3 separate regions of the Homo sapiens genome follow, and regions 1 and 2 are each linked to region 3. Evidence: promoter capture Hi-C in 16 types of primary human blood cells and fetal thymus (Javierre and others, 2016). All regions are on one chromosome and are shown on one strand. Each heading gives the region's core, a stretch centred on a gene start or on the middle of the fragment in contact. The rest is flanking DNA. Distances are from core to core; before and after follow the strand shown.

What was found. The method cuts DNA at HindIII sites, captures the fragments that hold promoters and counts their contacts. A CHiCAGO score of 5 or more calls a contact.
Region 1: the fragment with the promoter of PPP2R5D here is called in contact with a fragment that was not itself captured in region 3 in 2 of 17 cell types (fetal thymus and megakaryocytes); the score reaches 9.2 in fetal thymus.
Region 2: the fragment with the promoter of GNMT here is called in contact with a fragment that was not itself captured in region 3 in 1 of 17 cell types (M0 macrophages); the score reaches 5.4 in M0 macrophages.

What each region holds. Positions count from the first base shown.
Region 1 is chr6:42,982,827-42,986,135 of GRCh38, forward strand. It overlaps PPP2R5D (protein phosphatase 2 regulatory subunit B'delta), which reads left to right and starts at 1,744. Exons shown (of 16, transcript NM_006245.4): 1 at 1,744-1,878. The coding sequence starts at 1,852. It overlaps LOC124900215 (a long non-coding RNA gene), which reads right to left and starts at 1,488. Exons shown (of 2, transcript XR_007059580.1): 1 at 1,006-1,488. RefSeq lists an enhancer at 1,523-1,642 and silencers at 1,793-1,862, 1,953-2,102. The HindIII fragment of the contact is 14,822 bases long and covers 1,505-3,309 here.
Region 2 is chr6:42,959,069-42,962,129 of GRCh38, forward strand. It overlaps GNMT (glycine N-methyltransferase), which reads left to right and starts at 1,686. Exons shown (of 6, transcript NM_018960.6): 1 at 1,686-1,905. The coding sequence starts at 1,700. All of the region lies in intron 1 of CNPY3-GNMT (CNPY3-GNMT readthrough), which reads left to right. RefSeq lists enhancers at 1,405-1,906, 2,085-2,134. The HindIII fragment of the contact is 11,485 bases long and covers 1-3,061 here.
Region 3 is chr6:43,142,937-43,145,897 of GRCh38, forward strand. It overlaps PTK7 (protein tyrosine kinase 7 (inactive)), which reads left to right. Exons shown (of 20, transcript NM_002821.5): 14 at 481-684; 15 at 1,515-1,670; 16 at 2,264-2,496. Among named protein-coding and RNA genes, the nearest start is that of SRF, 27 kb to the right of the region's middle. RefSeq lists an enhancer at 490-579. The HindIII fragment of the contact is 2,662 bases long and covers 181-2,842 here.

The DNA of each region.
Region 1 (3,309 bases), core at 494-2,993, 160 kb before region 3:
GTGTTATCCAGGATGGTCTCGATCTCCTGACCTCGTGATCCGCCCGCCTCGGCCTCCTAAAGTGCTGGGATTACGGGCGTGAGCCACCGCGCCCGGCCTCCATTGTATCATTCTCATGCCTTTGCATCACAGGTTTCTTCTTTTTTTTTTGTAGACGGAGTCTTGCTCTGTCGCCCAGGCTGGAGCGCAGTGGCATGATCTCGGCTCACTGCAACCTCCACCTACCGGGGTCAAGTAATTCTCCTGCCTCAGCCTCCTACCGGGTTCAAGTGATTCTCCTGCTTCAGTCTCCCGAGTAGCTGGGACTACAGGCGCGCGCCACCACGCCCCGCTAATTTTTGTATTTTTCATAGAGGCATGGTTTCACCATGTTGGCCGGGATGGCCTCGATCTCTTGACTCGTGATCCGCCCACCTCGGCCTCCCAAAGTGCTGGGATTACAGGCGTGAGCCACCGCACCCTGTCTAATTTTTGTATTTTTAGTAGAAATGGGGTTTCACCACTATGGTCAGGCTGGTCTCAAACTCCTGACCTCGTGATCTGCCCACTTTGGTCTCCCAAAGTGTTGGGACTACAGGCGTGAGCCACCGAGCCTGGCCACAGGTTTATTCTTTTTGTCGTCATTGTTGCTGTTTTGAGACAGAGTCTTGCTCTGTCGCCCAGGCTGGAGTGCAGTGGTGTGATCTCGGCTCACTGCAACCTCCGTCTCCCGGGTTCAAGTGATTCTCCTGCCTCAGCCTCCCGAGTAGCTGGGATTACAGGCGTGCACCACCACACCCAGCTAATTTTTGTATTTTTAATAGAGACGGGGTTTCGCCATGTTGGCCAGGCTGGTCTCGAACCTCTGACCTCAGGTGATCCTCCTGCCTCAGCCTCCCAAAGTGTTGGGATTACAGGCGTGAGACACCGTGCCTGCCTGGTTTACATTCTCTCTTAATCCTTTGTTTATACACATCTGTGATTCACCAGACTGCGAACTCTTTGTGGGCATAAACTGAGTCTTACCCATTAGAACACGGACTTGAGCAGGGTGGCAAGTAAGGGATGGATTTCCTGAGACAGTCAACAATGAAGTTGCTTTTCCACTGCGTTCCCAACTGCTCAAATCTAGCTGGTTCCCCAATCCCAGTACACTTGCAGTAGCAACGGGGACCCTCTTCCTAAAGTTGCACCAAGCCAGGGATTCTCCACTCATTTCGCCCAGGTCCTAGCCCTGCCAGGCTTCCCCTTTGCTCCTCTGCAACCCCTGTCTAGGGAGGCGGGTGTCTTGGAAGGTCCTTGGGAGCTCCCTCCATCAATTTTGCATCTGCAATTAGGGCTACTTTACCCCAGTGAAGAAAGGTGCCCTCCGTATTAGGGCTTCCTTCCTCCAATTCCGACTGGACAGGGTAGCAGAGCGGGCAAAGTGTGAGAGCCTTTAGAAGGAAAGAGCAGGGCTCCAAGCGCCGCGAAGAATGGCCGAGGCCGACGCACAGCAGACGCTGGAGTGCAGCCCTCCTAGCCAAGCTTGGGTTTCCCCTTATCCCCGCCTCCTTCTCTAAGCTCGACCCACTTTAGGGCGGGACCACCCACTTCAGCCAATTCTGGAAGCCGAACCCTGGCGGTTTGTACTATTTCTTTCCAATAAGAAAAAAAGGAAGCAGCTTGGCTCCAATGACCAATCCGAGGAGGCGGCGCCTGGTTGTCAGGCAGTTTTGTAGGAGTTCGGGCCAATTGGAGGCGCAGGCACCGCTCGACCCGGGCGCAGCGCGCAGGCGGTGGCGAAGAGACGCCGAGCGGGCCGAGTGCGGCCGAGCAAAGCCGGAGCCGGAGCGGGGCCGCAGGAGACGGGCCGGGTCCGGACGGGCCGAGATGCCCTATAAACTGAAAAAGGAGAAGGTGAGCGTGGCCCTTTTTCCCCCACCGCCGCCTTGGAGCCTGCGCGGAGCTCTGGGAGGGGCCGGAGCCAGGCCCGGGACAGCCCCAGACTGACCCTCCCGTCCAGCCCCCGCAGGACTCCTGGGGCCAGCCCTCCGCCCCCGCGGCTGGCAGCACCCCCAGCTTGTGCCGCAGCTAGGACAGCTCCCCCACCTTGCCCCGGAGAGACTCCCCCCACATACACCTCCCTCCCTTCTTCCCTTCTCTTACCCCCGGCCCAGGGTAACCTCCTTCTTCCAGATCTGCCCCATTCCCAGGTCACTGTCCTGCTTTTTCTGTCCCCCCCATCACCCCTGGCCCCGATCCCCCTTCGGTTTGGGCAGCCCCTCATCTGAAACTGCACCTTCCTCCAGAATTGCCCCCTCGCCCCGCCCTGAGCAGCCCCTTGTCTCCTCTTCCTACCCGCCTGGGACAGCCGCCCCGCAGTCCCCTACGGCCCCTTCTCTTTCCATGCCAAGCCCCTGACCTAGAACAGCGCTGCTTTCTCTCTCCTCCACCCAAATCTGGCCTAGGCCCCTCCCTCTAGTTCTTCCTTCACACACAAACTTGTAAGCAGGACTGAGCCCTTCTGTTGATGGAACCTCACAACGTTGGTGCTGGAAGGGACCTCTGAGCGCATGCAGTGCAATCCCTAATGGTACAGATGAGGAGACTGAGGCCCCGACAGGGCAAGGGACTTGTCCAAGGTCACACAGCCTGCTGGAGGCCCAGCTGCAATATCAGGTCTCCTGACTTAAAGGCCTCTTTTGTATCAAAGCCCTCCTAACTGTCACCCAAGTGCATCCTAGACCAGTCACCTTTCCTAATCTGAGTAGGCTCCTCACCCTTATTCTTAATCCTAGGATAACCTTTGCATTTTTCCTTTTTTTTTTTCTTTTCGCACCAGTGCTGGATTTCTGCCTTTCCTAAGCTACACCATCTTCAAATTGGGAATTTGTCCTCACTGTCAGATTATTGTTCCTTCTTAGCCTGCAGGCCAGCCACCCCTGAACACCCATGTCTTTATCATGATGTCCTGACACAGGCCATTTCTTTTTTTTTTTTTTTTTTTGAGATGGAATTTTGCTCTTGTTGCCCAGGCTGGAGTGCAATGGCGCGATCTCGGCTCACCACAACCTCTGCCTTCTAGCTTCAAGCGATTCTCCTGCCTCAGCCTCCCAAGTAGCTGGAATTACAGGCATGCGCCACCACATCCGGCTAATTTTGTATTTTTAGTAGAGACGGGGTTTCTCCATGTTGATCAGGCTGGTCTTGAACTCCTGACCTCAGGTGATCTGACCCCCTCGGCCTCCCAAAGTGCTGGGATTACAGGTGTGAGCCACCGTGCCTGGCCCACAGGCCAGTTCTTAATGTTGCCTTCTTTCACCTTCCTCATCTACCTCGGTGCTGCCT
Region 2 (3,061 bases), core at 436-2,935, 180 kb before region 3:
CAAACAGTACCAAAGGAGAGCATCACCCGTTAACCAGGCCCCCTGCTTAGAAGAGTAGCACAGACCGGGCGCTGTGGCTCACACCTATAATCCCAGCACTTTGGGAGGCCGACGCCAGTGGATCACGAGGTCAGGAGTTTGAGACCAGCCTGACCAACATGGTGAAACCCTGCCTCTTCTAAAAATACAAAAATTAGCCGGGCGTGGTGGTGAGCGCCTGTAATACCAGCTACTCAGGAGGCTGAGGCAGGAGAATTGCTTGAATCTGGGAGGCGGAGATTGCAGTGAGCTGAGATTGCACCACGGCACTCCAGCCTGGCGACAGAGCGAGACTGTGTCTCAAAACAAAAACAAAAACAAAAAAAAACCCTGCAGTTGCTTCCATGTTTAGGCGCTGCCCACCAAGGGTCCCAAGTTGGAAAGGAAGGAGGAGAGAGGCAGAGAGAGAGAGAGAGAGAGAGAGAGAGAGAGAAGCGCGAGAGCGGCCCTGTAATTGAGCAGAAAGGAAAGGGAGAAAAATGAATCCCAAACTTTGGGCTTACCTCTTTCTGCTGGCTGGCTCGCCAAAATATGTTAACGGTAGAGGATGTCCAGGTTCTTGGCATCTTGAACAAACAATTGGACAAAATGCACAAACAAAGCAAGAAAGGAATGAAGGATTTTATTGAAAATGAAAGTACACTCCACAGTGTGGGAGCGAGCATGAGCATAGGGGCTCAAAGGCCCTGTTACATTTTGTGAGTTTAAATACCCTCTACTTGGGGTACACCCTATGTAAATGAAGAGGATGAAGTAAAGTTACAGTTACAAAGTTATTAATGGCGGGCATACGCCCTATGGAGAGGATATTTCCCGTTATAACTGAAGTGTGAATTGGCCTTATGTTCCCTGTCTCTAGACCCTATTCTCCTGCTTCCTGTGAAAGCAGAGGGTTTTGTTTGTTTTTTGCTTTTTGTTTTTTGAGACGGAGTCTTGCTCTGTTGCCCAGGCTGGAGTGCAGTGGTGCACTCGGCTCACTGCAACTTCCGCCTTCCCGGGTTCAAGCGATTCTCCTGGCTCAGCCTCCGGAGTAGCTAGGACTACAGGCGCGTGTCACCATGTCCCAGCTAATCTTTCTTTATTTTTAGTAGAGACGTGTTAGCCAGGTTTCACCGTGTTACCGTGTTACCGTATTCCAGCCGGGCTCCGCCCCTGGATTCGGTGGACAGACCAGCTTTACCTCCAGAGACTCCCCCTGTCTTCCCTGCACCGGCTGACTATACCTACACACTTCGGTGGCACAATCTTTGTTTAGATATGCTGATGCCTTCCTTCGCTGGGAACGGTCCAGTCCTGCCCGCCTGGCGCTCAGCTCTGCGGATCTCAGGGGATGGAGTGGCAATCTCATTGCTCCCGCCTCTCCTGACCCCTCTCGCCTTCTCCTCGAGACCCGGGTTAAGTGGGCAGAGGGCTCCGAGGGTCCTCTCCCGCCGTGGGATTGCACAGAGGGCTGGGTCCGCAGGCTGGCTAAAAGGACCTAGCCCAGGATTGCGAGGCAGCGCCCTCCCTGCAGCTGGACAGACTCGGGCGCCCGGCCCAAAGCCCGGCAGGGGCGTGTCCGCGCGCTCACCTGCTATTGGCCAGGTGGGGCTGTCGGCTGCCAGCAGTGCTTATGCTTTAAGTGCGGAGCGGGTGGCTGCGGAGCCAGGCGCGGCGCAGGATGGTGGACAGCGTGTACCGGACCCGCTCCCTGGGGGTGGCGGCCGAAGGGCTCCCGGACCAGTACGCGGACGGGGAGGCGGCGCGCGTGTGGCAGCTGTATATCGGAGACACCCGCAGCCGCACCGCCGAGTACAAGGCATGGCTGCTTGGGCTGCTGCGCCAGCACGGCTGCCAGCGGGTGCTCGACGTAGCCTGTGGCACTGGGTGAGCCCAGGCCGGGGCCGGGGGCGTTGCATGAGATCGGGGTCTGTCTCAGCCTGTACTGCGCGGCCGCAGAACCACAGGGCCGGGCACGTCAGGGCGGCCTTTGCCAATCCTGGAACGGGTGGGACACCAGGGCCAGGAGCAGGTACCTGCCCGGCAGAACAGGCACTGCGAGTGCCCCGTGAGGCTAGGGGTCCAGGTAGCGGTTCGCAGGGAGAGGCCCCGGAGAAGGGAGACTGAGTGTGAGTGAGGGTGTGGGCAGAAAAAGTGAGCGTCCCTGAGGCTTTGGAGCCAGAGCCACGGACAGATTGCAAATATTCCTCCTGTGATGGCCTTGGGCAGTGTTAACAGTTAACATTGCTCAACATTTGCACCTGCCAAGCCCAGTGCCAGGAGCTTTTGATACATCACTTTTTCAAACCCTCACAAAGCCCCATGAAGTTAAGCAGTGATATTCTCTCATTTACTACTGGGGAAGTAAGGCCTCAGCAAAGTAAAATTCCCTCATACATCATCCAGTGAAAAGGAGCTAACAGGCCCGGGTTGGTTAAGATCTGTCCTGTGCTCTATTTTTCTCTTTTTTTTTTTTTTTTTTTTTGAGATGAAGTCGTGCTCTGTCGCCCAGGCTGGAGTGCAGTGGCTCCATCTCGGCTCACTGCAAGCTCCGCCTCCTGAGTTCATGCCATTCTCCTGCCTCAGCCTCCCGAGTAGCTGGGACTACAGGCGCCTGCCACCACGCCCAGCTAATATTTTGTATTTTTAGTAGAGACGGGGTTTCGCCGTGTTAGCCAGGATGGTCTCGATCTCCTGACCTTGTGATCTGCCCACCTCGGCCTCCCAAAGTGCTGGGATTACAGGCATGAGCCACCGCGCCCGGCTTTGTCCTGTGCTCTAAACCACCATGTTCTACTGCCTTTTGTGCACACGTATTTTAACTTCAAGGAGCCTCAGCTTGTCTGTCTCTCAAATGGGAATGACACTATTTACCTCTCAGGATTGCCATGAGAATTAATGCATATTTGTAGAGTGCCTGGCTCTGAAGAGGTGCTTTTAAAAAAAAGTTGCCTTGTGGTGACAGGAAACAGATTTGTGAGGTCAGTGGAGAGGGCCTGGGGAGAGGAGGCAGAGGAACGGACTCTGAGAAGTAGAGACAAAA
Region 3 (2,961 bases), core at 262-2,761:
CTAATGCCTCTTGAGGCCCCTCAGTGTGGGCCATTAAAAGGCCCCTAGACCAGCAGATCCCTTCTACAGATCTGCTTATTGAAAAACCTGCTCTGTGCCAGGCAGTGCCTGGAATTCTAAACCTGAAGCTCCCAAATGCTGCTCTCCGGGGCCTGGCTCACATTATCAAGTCACTTGGGAAGCTTAACAAATAACGTGGGTTTGTGGTAGCTCCTTGACAGGTGTGCTTATCCGTGTCGCCTGTCTTGGCTTCCGATGCAAAGCCAGCTTGGGAACCCCTGGCCTCATCTCCTTCAGAGTCTTCGTTTGACCTTGGTGGGGCATGAGGACCTGCTGGCCCTTGTTAAAGCCAGTGAAGGTGGTGACCCTCCCGGGCCATCTGTTAAGTTGCCCTGTTGATGGGGTTGGGAGGAGTTAGTAGAGAAGCAGGGCTTCTTTTGCTTAGCAGCCCCTGCCCAGACCCATCTGTGTGTCTCTCAGACAAGCCTGTGCCGGAGGAGTCGGAGGGCCCTGGCAGCCCTCCCCCCTACAAGATGATCCAGACCATTGGGTTGTCGGTGGGTGCCGCTGTGGCCTACATCATTGCCGTGCTGGGCCTCATGTTCTACTGCAAGAAGCGCTGCAAAGCCAAGCGGCTGCAGAAGCAGCCCGAGGGCGAGGAGCCAGAGATGGAATGCCTCAACGGTGAGGGGCCCTGGACGGGGAGGTGGTGCCCGTGTGCGGGAGCTGAGCGCCCTCCCGCGGCCACGGAGGGGAGAGCGCCAGCACTCTGGAAACCGAGCGGCTGTTGCTGGGTCCTGGAGCTGGGACTGCCCCACCCCTAGCGGGAAGCCTGGAGTTGGATTCCCAGGGCCTCGTCTTCTGAGCAACCTGGCTTGAGACTTCTTCATTGGAGCCCCTTGGACCAGCTTCCTATGATTCCCTGCTGTTTCCTCCTCCCAGCACAAAACCACAGATATCATTAGTATATGTACACACGTTGCTGTTGCATGTCTTGTCTCCCTCTATGAGTCTAAGAGCTCCCCCAGGGGCAGTCTTTCTGTTTACTTCCCTTCTCCTATCCCCACTTCCTGGACTGGGAGCTCCTTGAGGTCATTGCTGGGTCTCTCCTATCAGCTCAGGTGTTCAGGAGCAGAGGTTGGGTCTCCATTATTGTGATTTTCCCTTTGTGCCTGTTTAGGGCTTTGCCCAATAGGAGGCCCCATGAAAGCAAAAATCCTTATGTGTAGCTATGGTATTAAGGACCAGTGATTCAGATTAGATGTCTGCAGTTGGCTTCATCTCAGAGGTCATAATCAGCTGCATCACTAAGGGGTCATACCCTAGGGGATAGCCATACATCCCCCACCCAGCCCCAGCCCCATTATTTCATCATTTGGGCTTGCCCTTTCATGTGGAGCACTGTGATTGGACCCAAGTTGGCAAGAGTGGAAGACCAGGGGACAGAACAGAAATCCCCATGGTGGCCAGAGTGTCAGGTCTCATCGTGACGCTCTTGTCCTCCTCCTTCCCAGGTGGGCCTTTGCAGAACGGGCAGCCCTCAGCAGAGATCCAAGAAGAAGTGGCCTTGACCAGCTTGGGCTCCGGCCCCGCGGCCACCAACAAACGCCACAGCACAAGTGATAAGATGCACTTCCCACGGTCTAGCCTGCAGCCCATCACCACGCTGGGTATGTTGCCTTGACTACAGCTGCCCCTGCCTAACTACAAGTCACCCGCTGTGTCTTGAGGCTGGGTACGGGCTAGTGTTCTGAAGTCCCTGAAACCTAGAATGTTAGAGGTGGAGGGAAGCATAGGTAGAGATCTAGCCCAGTGTGGCCCCAGAGCCTGTTATTCACTGCCCTTCGTGCAGATTTTGTCATTCCTGTGTACTACCTGTAGTATTATTTACTTGATGTTTTATTTAAATTGACTCTTTAAAAAAAAAAACTAAGTTACCATTGTTCTAGGAAAAAATATGAGAAATCATGGGTTTGTCATAGTTACGTTTTTTCCTAGCATACGTTAAGACATGTTTACCATGAGCCACCAAAAATTCTCATGCGAGTCACCCTTTGGAAAATGCTGAATATTAGTCCCACCCTTTTATTTTGTTGCTGCAGACACTGAAGCCTAAGGAGGGAGGGGGTCACAGCAGAACCGGGTCTCGTGCCCAGCCCAGGTGGGTGGGTCCCCACTGTGGGAGAGGCTAGGCCCCTCCCCCAGGTCAGGAGCTGCCTCGGCCTGGGTGAAGGTGGCTGGCTGACTCAGACTGTACCCACAGGGAAGAGTGAGTTTGGGGAGGTGTTCCTGGCAAAGGCTCAGGGCTTGGAGGAGGGAGTGGCAGAGACCCTGGTACTTGTGAAGAGCCTGCAGAGCAAGGATGAGCAGCAGCAGCTGGACTTCCGGAGGGAGTTGGAGATGTTTGGGAAGCTGAACCACGCCAACGTGGTGCGGCTCCTGGGGCTGTGCCGGGAGGCTGAGCCCCACTACATGGTGCTGGAATATGTGGATCTGGTATGCTGTTGGCAGGGGACGTGGGGGTCTCGGGTAGGGAGGGCAGTGTCCTACAAAGGTGGGAGTCAGTGGTTGGAGCACCGTGAAAACCTTGTCTCGTGCAGTCTCAGCCGAGACCTCACCTGCCTGCTGTTACACTTTGCCCACCTTATGATGCTCAGCTTCTGCCTTCCCTGCTCTTGGATGCCTGCTTTCCCTTTATCAGCACCCAGTCTTTCCATCTGTATCTCAGGGGCGTTGGTCCTAAGTTTTTCTGGGACTTCTCACTGTCACACTGCAGGGATGCCTTCCAGGTCATCTTCTCTGACTCTTGTTTTCTTTGGTTTGTTATTTTTTCCTCCCCAAAAGCTTGTCCCCACTTGAGAATAAATATATCAGAACCCACTTTGCCTCCCTCCTTCCTAGCACCACTTGTGACATGAGTGTTACCCCAGCCACCAGCCTTCTCCTCTCCACTCAGGGTGT